Linked DNA regions of Homo sapiens: region 2 is linked to region 1. Evidence: promoter capture Hi-C in human tissues and cell types (Jung and others, 2019). All regions are on one chromosome and are shown on one strand. Each heading gives the region's core, a stretch centred on a gene start or on the middle of the fragment in contact. The rest is flanking DNA. Distances are from core to core; before and after follow the strand shown. Region 1 holds the start of AKT3 (AKT serine/threonine kinase 3). Region 2 overlaps ADSS2 (adenylosuccinate synthase 2).

Region 1 (5,293 bases), core at 1,978-4,477:
TAAGTCATGAGGGTTTGAGCCCTCAAGAATGGGATTAGTGCCCTTATAAAAGAGGCTCAAGATGGCTGGGAACATTAACTCATGCTGGTAGTCTCAGCTACTCAGGAGGCTGAGGCAGGAGGGTTGCCTGAGCCTAGGAGTTCCAGGCTACAGTGAGCTATGATCATGCCACTGCACTCCAGTCTGGGTGACAGAATGAGACACTGTCTCTAAAAAAAAAAAAAAAAAAAAAAAAAAAAAAAAAAAAAAAAACAAAGAAAAAGAAAAAGAGGTCCAAGAGAGTTCCCTCACTCTTTCTAAAATGTGAAGACACAGCAAGAAGTCACCACCTACAAACCAGGAAACGGAACCCTCTTTAGACACCAAATCTGCTGGTGCCATGATCTTGGACTTCCCAGCCTCCAGAACTGTTAGAAATAAATTTCTGTTCTTTATAAGCTACCTAGTTGATGGTATTTTGTTATAGCAGCCTGAATGGACTAAGACATTAGATGCTCTGAAATTCTAAATATCCTTCCAGTTTTAGTTACTCCCAAGAAATGGGGGAAGTACCAAGAAATAGCTCAGTATCAAACTTAGTCATTGGTAGTAAAGAAGAATGAACATTTTTCTTAAAATGAATAAATAACTAATACTGAGAAATGTTAATCTTAAGAATATTTGGTGTAATAAAGAATGAAGGCTTTCTTTGCAAAATTTAGGAGGGACATTCCCAGGGATGAACATGCTGGCTGCACTCCATATTACTGGATGTGATAACAAAATAGAGAAGAAATCTGCCACACACTCTGTATGGAGTACCGACATACCACAATCGGCAGATTCTACCAAATTCATACCGGCATAGTCTAAGAGAAAGAACAACGTTATTTAAATAAATAATATCCCTAATCAATAGTAATTCAATAACAAAATCAAACATGCTTTTATTATGGAAACTTATGAAACTACTATAGTCCACAAGCAAAAATTGAACAGAAATAAAAACTTATAATTCTTCAAATACATGAAGCCGAGAGTATATAATCCATTCTCACATACTGAATTTTAGGGTTTAATCCACCTAAGATTTAATGCAATCTGACCAGACTGGGAGAAATATTTTGAGGTAGTATGGCTCATAAGACACATTCAGTTCTTGTAAATATATTGATGTTAAATTTGGGAACAAATGAACATCTCACTGATAAGAGATATCTAGTAATTCAGTAATTCCGGATACTCTGACTCTCAAAAGTTAAGTATTTAAAGTTTCAGACACTCTTTTTAGTGCTGGTGTCATAAGGGACTATTTTCTTAAAAATAAAAAGCAAGTTGGGGTACTATGGAATAAAAATATGACCTATTTTTGTGTTTTACAGCAAGAAACCTGTAACCCAATAATTTTACCAATAGTGACTGTGAGAGGTCTGATAATTATGGGAATACATTATGTATATTTTATAGATACAACGAAAATAGGACAAAGTCTGTTTATTCATCAGCTCATAGCATGCTGGGAAATATGGGAAAAGGGGAAAGGCATGGTGCAGGACTTTCTCTCAGACGGACTGTGTTATCTTAAAATGGCAAATTTTGCTCCAGGGTGGTCAGGGAGACAAGTTTCCCTTACAAACGGAGAAAACTGACTTTTTTAAAAAACCCTTTTATTTGGTTTCCTACTCCTGTCCACAATCCCAACAGATGCACAGTTCATAAAAGATGTGAACCTGGAAGTATAAATATTAATACCACACAGTACATAAATACCAGGGGGCTACAGTATAAGAAAATGACTACCATAAGAGAGTTGTCAAGACATAGAAAAGCAGAGAATGAAGTGCATGTCAGGAGGAGGAACTCTTCTGCAGAAAGAAGCCACAGACATTAACAAAAATGTTGCAGTGGGAGAAAGTAACAGGTACATCAACAAGGCTAGAGCCACGTGGCGGGATAATAGGGATGCTGCCCAGGTGTTTCCAGAAGCGATAAAACTTGTAAACTTTTATAATTTTCTGAAGTGCGCTGCATGGTAAAATATGGTCATTGTGCAAAAAAGTTGTCCCCAATGCAGTCTCAGGAGTCACTGACTTCAAAATAAAGAAACGGTCTCTTCGTAGTAAATGTAGTACCTCGTGGCTTTCCCAAAGTCATTGAAAACGAATATCCCTAAAAAGGGTGTGATTTCAAGAGTGAATTACGATCCGCCCGCAATCTGTGTACCGTGTGTGGACGAATGCTTGCAGCGAGCGGTGCGGAAGGCTGTTCAGAGAGGTGTTTTTGGTCTGCCGTGGTCTCCTGGGATAGTCAGGAATGATTCTTGCTACGGGCTGACCCGGGTTCCCTCTTCCCCGAGGTGCAGGGGGTGGGGTCGGCTTCTGGACTGCTCCGCGCTCTCCGGTCCCTACCTCATTGGGCACCGCCCACTTCGTGGGCTTCCAGGTGCGAGCCCTCGCGCCGGGCCCATCTCCCCAAGGGGCCGCGGCGGACTGGAGGAGACGCCCGGGGCCTGGCGGCGCGCGCGTCCGCGGCCAGGGCGGGTGGGCGGATGCGCCGAGGAAGCGGCTGGGCGAGGAGCCTCCGCTCCCGGGCCTCGGGTGCCCGCCAAGGGCCACGCGGGCGAGGGGGAAACCCAGAACTTCCCGCCCGGGAGCGACTGCCCCCGCTCCCGGCTCTGGCTGGCTAGGGGGATGTTCTCGCGAGAGGAGAGGGGGCGCGGGGCACCGCTGGTTTGGGGGCGCGGGGAAGCCTGAGGACGAGGGCCGGGCAGGGAGGGGAGCAGAGGCGGCGGGCAGGGCCGGGGACGCGGGGAAGCCGCTCCCGCCAGTCGCCGAGAGCCAGCCCCTGACGTCAGGAGTTTTCCTCAAAGTCAACAACAAGCCCCGCGGCGACGGCGAGAACCGATCGGCGGCGGCCCCGAGCGGGAGGAAGGAGGGGGCGGGGAGGCGGCGGGGGGTCCCCTCAGCGAGGCGCAGCCCGGGAGGAGGCCGCAGAACCCCTCCCCGCGCCGGGCGCGCCCCGGGGCCCAGAGCCGCCGCCCCGCCGGCGTGACCCGGCCCCCGCCCGAGCGGTGTTTTCTGGTGATGAATTTGTAGCCGATATCCGATTCCCATGTAGAGTCTCCGCCTCCTCCTCTCCCCGCCGCCGCCCTCTCTCCTCCCTCCCCCTCCCGCCGCCGCCGCCGCCGCCGCCGCCTCCCGCTCCAGCTCCGCGGCCCGGCCCGGCCGGCTCCCTCCCTCCCTCCCCTGCAGCCCTTCGCTTGCCCTCCCGCCGGCCGCACCGGGCTCCAGGAGGCCAGAGGCTCTGTGGGGTGGGGGGAGGACAGGAGGGGAGGAGGAGGGAGGGGGGACCCCCGAGTCGCCCCCTCTCCTCCCCCCGCCCCCCCCCGGCTCCATCCTCCGCCGCCGCCCGAGCAGCTGCGGGGCCGCCACCGCCGCCGCCGCCGTTGCAGGTAACAGCCACCGCCCCCAACTCTAGCCCCCTCCCCGCCTGGCCTCCACTCCCTCCGGGCCCCGGGCCCCGGTCCGCCCTCCCTGCCTCCCTCAGGCGGGGGATGGCGGCGGGGTGGGGTGAGGCGGGGGCTTCTGGGTTGTCACCGCGCCGGGGGCGTGGGCGGGGGCTGGGTCACCGGAGGCTTCGGGTGTGGGTGTGGAGGCCGGGGGATGCCCAGCGCGGTTGACACCGACACCCCCCGCTTTCCGGGGAAAGCTGGGGGGCGGCGGTGCGCAGCGGGCCGGGGGAGGGGTGTTCCCGGCCTAGCGGTACCGTCTGTGTCTGGGCTGCCCCGGCCCGGCGCCTGCTGTCTGCGCAACTCTCGCTCCTTCCCCTCGCCCCTCCCCGCCCGGGCCGCGCGGCGTGGGGAGGGGGCGCCCGCCTGGACCGGGGGCGGCGGCGAGGTTATATAACGCGTGGAGCGCCGGTGTCAGTGTGTTTGGGTTGGGGGGAGGGAGCCGTCTGCCGCGCGCCCTGGCGCTGAGGCTGTCTGCGCGTGGGGTGGGGTGAAGGCGAGGATGCACAGGCGTCCCCGGGGTCTCCTTCCTTCCCCCACCCTTCCCCGCCACTGGCGCGCAGGAAAAGACGGCACTGGTGGGGTGGGGGGGGGGGTGTGTGTGTGGGAGGTGGGTAACGTGCTTGTCTGTGTTTTTAATAGTAGTGGGGTTTTGATCCGCTTGGGAGTTGTGTGCTAAGAATAGAAATGTGCGGAAGATGCTGGGTTTGGCTGATCCAGTGATGCTGTCGCTGCTGGCGGCGGCGGCAGCTCTGGCTGCAAGTAAACAGACCAGCCTCTTCCTTGTCCACCTCCTCCGGCGCATCGGTCCGCATCAGCCATGATGCCGGTGGGGCCCTTCAGAGCCCAAAGTTGAAGCCTAGCTGGTTGCTGTGTTGACCCTGACGCCGAGGCGGGGTCACCATCCCTTGTTTGGGATTTCCCGGGAATCTACAGTTAGCCTAGAGATAAAGAATCTCGTTGGGGCCAGGTTTTTCCAATACCGGTATTTACTGTTTATGTTCTGAAAGCAGAGGAAATGCTTACCCACAAGTCAAAGCTGGGATGCTCACATTTCTTCCATCAAAATAATGTTGTTATGAAAATAAAACCAACTCATTTCACCAATGTGGCATTTTGGTTGAAAGCCTGGTAGTTTGCAATTGATGAAGTTTCCAAATAGAAAGTCAACAGTGAAACCTATGCATCTATATTGGGTAATTTCTAGCCATAATAAAGTGTTCACACTTTGATTTTAGTTGAGGCTAAAGTAAAAAATAATGGCTTTTTGTAGTTAATACATTGGCAGTTGTCTCAACAGTTTAGACATGTGTTCCGTATTTGGTAAAGCATGGTCATATATGTCTTTTAGTAGAACTATACATCACTAGGCAACCACTGGGTTTTGTCAGTGGTTGAAGCTGACAAATGAGTGAAACTCATTGGTTTAGGTTATGTATTTACTTAGGAAAACGAAGGTGGAAGAGTCTAATAAAGATGGTGTAGGAAATGAAGATTAGTCTTCAGAACTTGAGTATCACTTGCAAAATATGTATAAACGAATACAAACATTCCGGGGGTGGTTGTCTAAAACATGAAAATATTTTATAATTAAAATAGCAACTTATTACTAAGTTACTAGTTTTCCAAGGTTTATGACTTAATGCACAATTATATGCAAGATATATATCCGGACTGTAATTGTTTTCCTTTTGCCAGTACATTATCTTGACTTGGAAAGTTTACCAAGGAGATAGTACTTGAAAGTTTACAGGGAGATGGTACTTGAAGATCTTTTTGTTTTCCTTACTAGGGTTGACCCCAATA
Region 2 (5,293 bases), core at 1,037-3,536, 580 kb before region 1:
GTTTGTCCTACTCCCTTTTTCCTTCTAGCCTATCCAACCCTGCTCTTTATCTACTTTACTGAATTTCTTGGTCCTATTTTCTTTATTATATCTCCTAAACTAACTTCAGAATACATGTTTGTATGTCAAAACAACCGTAGAAGGGGAGGCTTAATATTCCAGGTTTACCTTTTAGCACATTACCGAGGAGGTTCTCTTCCTTAATCTATAAGGAATATATTTTAAAAATAAATCTTCAGGGAAAAACAAATTTTTCATTGTTAAAGATTAGTTTTGAAATGTTTGCAGCTTAGCAATTTGTCTTTAGTATTGTCTTTAAAGAAAAACATCGATTTGGGTTCATTTGTTCATTCAAGCGTCTTTTTTTTTTTTTGGAGACATGGTCTTGCTCTGTCGTCTATGCTGGAGTGCAGTGGTGTGAACACAGTAGTGAGCCTCTACCTTCTGGGCTCAAGCAGTCCTCCTGCTTCGGCCTCCCGAGTAGCTGGGACTGTAGGCACATGCCACCATGCCTGACTAGGTTTTTTAATTTTTTTTTTTTTTTTTTGTAGAGATGGGGTCTTTCTGTGTCACCCAGGCTGGTCTCAAACTCCAGGCCTCAAGCAATCCTCCTGCCTTGGTCACCCAAAGTGCTAGGATTATAGGCCACTGCTCTCAGCCAAAAGTAATTTTTAAAACCACTTACTGGATAACAGGCCCTGTGCTATGAAAGCTCACAGCCCCTCCTCTAGGTCTTCCACAGTTAAATGGGGGGACAGATATACCTCACAATTCACTGTAGTAAGTACAGTAATTGACAGTAGTACTTTAGAAGAATTAATGAAAAAGTTTATTTTCTTTACCTTTTTTTTTTTTTTTTTTTTTTTTAAAGATGGAGTCTTGCTCTGTTGCCAGGCTGGAGTGCAGTGGCACAATCTTGGCTCACTGCAGTCTCCGCCTCCCGGGTTCAAGTGATTCTCCTGCCTCAGCCTCCCGAGTAGCTGGGATTACAGGCGCCCGCCATCACGTACCCAGCTAATTTTTGTATTTTTAGTAAAGACGGGGTTTCACCATGTTGGTCAGGATGGTCTCGATCTCCTGACCTCAGGTGATCCGCCCGCCTTGGCCTCCCAAAGTGCTGGGATTACAGGCGTAAGCCACCGCACCCAGCCCATATTTGTTATAACTATCTTTTGGGAAAGGATGCCATTCCTAAAATTAACTCCCTTCTGGCAAATTTCTCCCTGCCAGGTACCTAACCTCCCCAGCATGATGTTTTTCTACCATTTGCCTTTTGGATTCCTAGAAGTATTTTATTTGGATGTGACTGGTTTGAATTTGGAGCTTTTAGAGCAAGACATTTGGAAAGATAGCATGTGAGTGAATTTATGTATGGAATGAATGACATGTGAGAAAACTCTTGTTAGACATGATGTTTCCTATACAGAAGAAAAGATACAAACTTGATTGCTTCAGTAAAAACACTTTTAGAGATTGTGTTTCCTTTTTTGTGAGACAGCATCTCGCTCCGCCACATACACTGGAGTGTAGTGGCACAATCTTGGCTTACTGCAACCTCTGCCTCCTGGGTTCAAGTGATTCTCGTGCCACAGCTACCCGAGTAGCTGGGATTAGATGCACCCACCACCACACCCAGCTAATTTCGTATTTTTAGTAGAGACGGGGTTTTACCATGTTGACCAGGCTGGTCTCGAACCCCTGGCCTCAAGTGATCCACCTGCCTTGGCCTCCCACAGTGTTGGGATTACAGGTGTTAGCCACCACGCCTGGCCTAGACATATTTCTAAAGAAATTAAGATCTTAGGCTGAGGTGGGTGGATCACAAGGTCAGGAGATCGAGACCATCCTGGCTAACACGGTGAAACCCAGTCTCTACTAAAATTACAAAAAAAAAATTAGCCAGGTGTGGTGGCGGGTGCCTGTAGTCCCAACTACTTGGGAGGCTGAGGCAGGAGAATGGCAGTGAACCCGGGAGGTGGAGCTTGCAGTGAGCCGAGATCACACCACTGCACTCCAGCCTGGGTGACAGAGCGAGACTCTGTCTCAAAAAAAAAAAAAAAAAAAAAGAAATTAAGATTTTAAAACTGCTATACAAAATATTCAATTAAATATATCTTTTTCCCCTTTCTAGGACTAGAAGGCTGGGAAAAAAGGCTTATTATATCTGACAGAGCTCATATTGGTAAGGTGGATATATTGCATTTATTTGTAACTATCTTTTTATCTGAAATTTATCAAATGAAAGTATTTAGTAACTAATTTTGTCTTTTATTTTTATTTAGCGTAAGTAGGATGGATTGTAGTAATTGAGTTCTAAATACAAAAAATACTTACTAATTTTTTTCTTTTTTAACAGTCTAGGCTGAAATTTACCTGTTTGAAAAAAAGGTTAGCTAAGCAAATTTATAATACAAGCAGTATTTCATAAGACATCTCTAATTCTATTTAAAAATAAGCCATATCAAAATGCAAAGAACATTTATTTGTATACGTAATATTCTTGTAAAAGTAAGTGTACCGTTTTGCAGATAGAGTGACTCTTTGTGCCTAAAATGTAGTAGTTATTGCTTTTTAAGTGATTCAGATTTTATTCAGACTAACCTAAATTTCAACCACTACCAATAAATTTGGGATTTTCTTCTCTGTTATTTTTCTCTTTCAGAACCAATGGAGTTGTTAATTAGCAGTGACATGATTTAAGAGACAATAACCAGAAAAGAAATAAGTAAAAACCACGTAGGAAACTTCTCTGTGATTGATCTGCACTCTTAAATTGTATTTAAGTATGCGTGTGTCCTGTGGCAGTAGCTGCTCTAGTTTTAACACTGGCCTCTATTTAAAAGGCAGCCTCATCAAGATACTTACAGTATTTCTCAGCCAAGCACAGAAATCAAATAACGGTCCCTCCAGATAACAGCCACAGACTTGAATCCTATGTATAATCTTAGTAACCCAATAAAATAACTTATTTGAAGTAAACTCTATTGGATTAACATACAGTTTCTATATGAAACTGGCCTCTTCATTACATTGTTTGCCACAGGCTTCTTAATCTGTAAAGTCTGAAAAGAACAATTTTTTGTTTTTACTGAAAAACAGTTTTATGTTAATATTTGTTGTCCTGTATGTTGTCTATTAGTAGACTGGTTATCCTTGAAAACAAAGACTTTGATAGCTGTTTGTTAGTGTAAGTGGATAAAATGTGGAATACTTCTGTATTTAACATAAAGTAAGCTTGTGAGTAGTTTATATTTCACCTGATTATACTTAAACTATGAAAATATTATCAGTAAAACTTTTATTTAAAAGACACCTTATTTCCAGAATTATTAATGGCATAGATGCATAACCAAGACAAAAAACAAAGGAAACAAAGAAGCTTTGCAGTCCCAAATGATAACATGCAATTTGGATAAGGACAAAAGGGTTTTGTTTTGGTTTTCAGAAGAAGGAGGTTGTCATTTTTGTTGCCTATTTTAAGCTTCTGATTTTAAAAATATTTATATTTTGTTTGTTAGCTTATCTTAGAACTTGAATTTTAAACTTATATATCACTATTGTGCTATAATATAGGAAGCAATAGAGTATTACTAATATTCTTTTTTTTTTAGACAGAGTCTCACTTTGTCACCCAGGCTGGAGTGCAGTGGGGTGATCTCAGCTCACTGCAACCTCTGCCTCCCGGGTTCAAGTGATTCTTCTGCCTCAGCCTCCTGAGTATCTGGGATTACAGGTGTGCTACCATGCCCAGCTAATTTTTGTATTTTTAGTGGAGACAGGGTTTCACTTGTTGGTCAGGCTGGTCTTGAACTCCTGACCTTAGGTGACCTGCCTACCTTGGCCGCCCAAAGTGCTGGGATTACAGGCGTGAGCCACTGCATCCGGCCCAACTAATATTCTTTCTTACTGGCAGTCTCCTAGTTATATAAGGAAAAATATGTTTTTGTGAAGTACTTTTGTAGCATTTTTGTTTGCTTACACTTACTACTCATTAGCTTTATTTATTCTGTTACCAATAGTCATCTTTATCTTCTTTTACCTTCATGATTTTATGTGTAGCTTTTTGGTATCCATTGTTCCTGTTGTGGATAAAGCAAGGCGCTGCATTAGATAATGAAAACCACTGCTTATCTTCAGAACTTTCCAATGGCTTTTTGTTATGTTGTCTGCTCTGTGAAATTCAGTATCTTAATCAGCATACCGCAATTTAGGATTGCAAAACAGAATAATCCCTAACACCTGCCGTTTGAATAACGTATAGCATCAGTGTATATAATCAGATAATTGGGCTATGTGCAGATATAAATATACGCTGATGATATCAGCCTGTTGGAAAGAGGTTAGTGTTAAGAGACATATCCCTGTTCCTGTCTGGATTCTCCATCTTCCTTCTTCATTGCAATTGCTTTGGGTCTGTCACTTAACAGTTCCATCCTTGGTACAACATAGAGGTTAAGCAAGTTACTTAATTACTTTAGACCACCAAAACAAAACAACAAAGTAGTAATGGGAAGGGGTCAAAAGGCCTAGAGTAAAAGGAAAGTAATGTGGTTTAACCATAATAAATGTAAATGAATATTATTATTTTATTTATAGTTATATTTCTTTAATTATTTTTTCCCATAAGTGTATGACCTTAAAGGAAAGTATTTCTGACAGAGGACTGAGCCTGTAGAAGATAAGCGCAGACTGAAATGTAGGTGTTAGTGGTCATATGTGTCATAATGGGTGTGTTAATGCTTTAAAACGTATATCACTAAAAGCCTGTAAGGTTCACTTCCCAGGGCCCTTAAAAAGTCTTATAAGAAACATATTTTTTATTTTATTTTATTTTATTATTTTTTTGAGACAGGGTCTCATTCTGTCACCCAGGCGGGAGTGCAATGGCATGATCTTGGTTCACTACAACCTCCACCTCCTGGGTTCAAGCGATTCTCGTGCCTCAGCCTCCTGAGTAGCTGGGATTACAGGCATGTCCCACCATGCCCGGCTTATTTTTTTGTGTTTTTAGTAGAGACAGGGTTTTACCATGTTGGCCAGGCTGGTCTTGAACTCCTGACCTCAAATGATCCACCTGACCTGGCCTCCCAATTACAGGCGTGAGCCACGGCCCGGCCAGAAACATGTATTTTAGTATAGTCAATTCTATAATAGTGAAAAGGAATAAATAGTATCATTAAAAAATCAAATAACTAATTGGAAAATTGTCTGAGAATCGTTGCTGTGAAACCACTTCGATCTTTGCTTTAGAGACTCCCGCTGTCACCATGGCACTGAACGGACAGTTCTGTAA

What was found. The method cuts DNA at HindIII sites, captures the fragments that hold promoters and counts their contacts. A contact is called where the count stands out against the background at its distance.
Region 2: a fragment that was not itself captured here is called in contact with the fragment with the promoter of AKT3 in region 1 in 1 of the 25 tissues and cell types used here (hippocampus).

Annotation. Positions count from the first base shown.
Region 1 is chr1:243,848,177-243,853,469 of GRCh38, reverse strand. AKT3 (AKT serine/threonine kinase 3) reads left to right here and starts at 3,227. Exons shown (of 14, transcript NM_005465.7): 1 at 3,227-3,430. RefSeq lists an enhancer at 3,818-4,318. The HindIII fragment of the contact is 14,855 bases long and covers 1-5,293 here.
Region 2 is chr1:244,429,434-244,434,726 of GRCh38, reverse strand. It overlaps ADSS2 (adenylosuccinate synthase 2), which reads left to right. Exons shown (of 13, transcript NM_001126.5): 4 at 2,132-2,182. Among named protein-coding and RNA genes, the nearest start is that of ADSS2, 20 kb to the left of the region's middle. The HindIII fragment of the contact is 5,061 bases long and covers 1-4,816 here.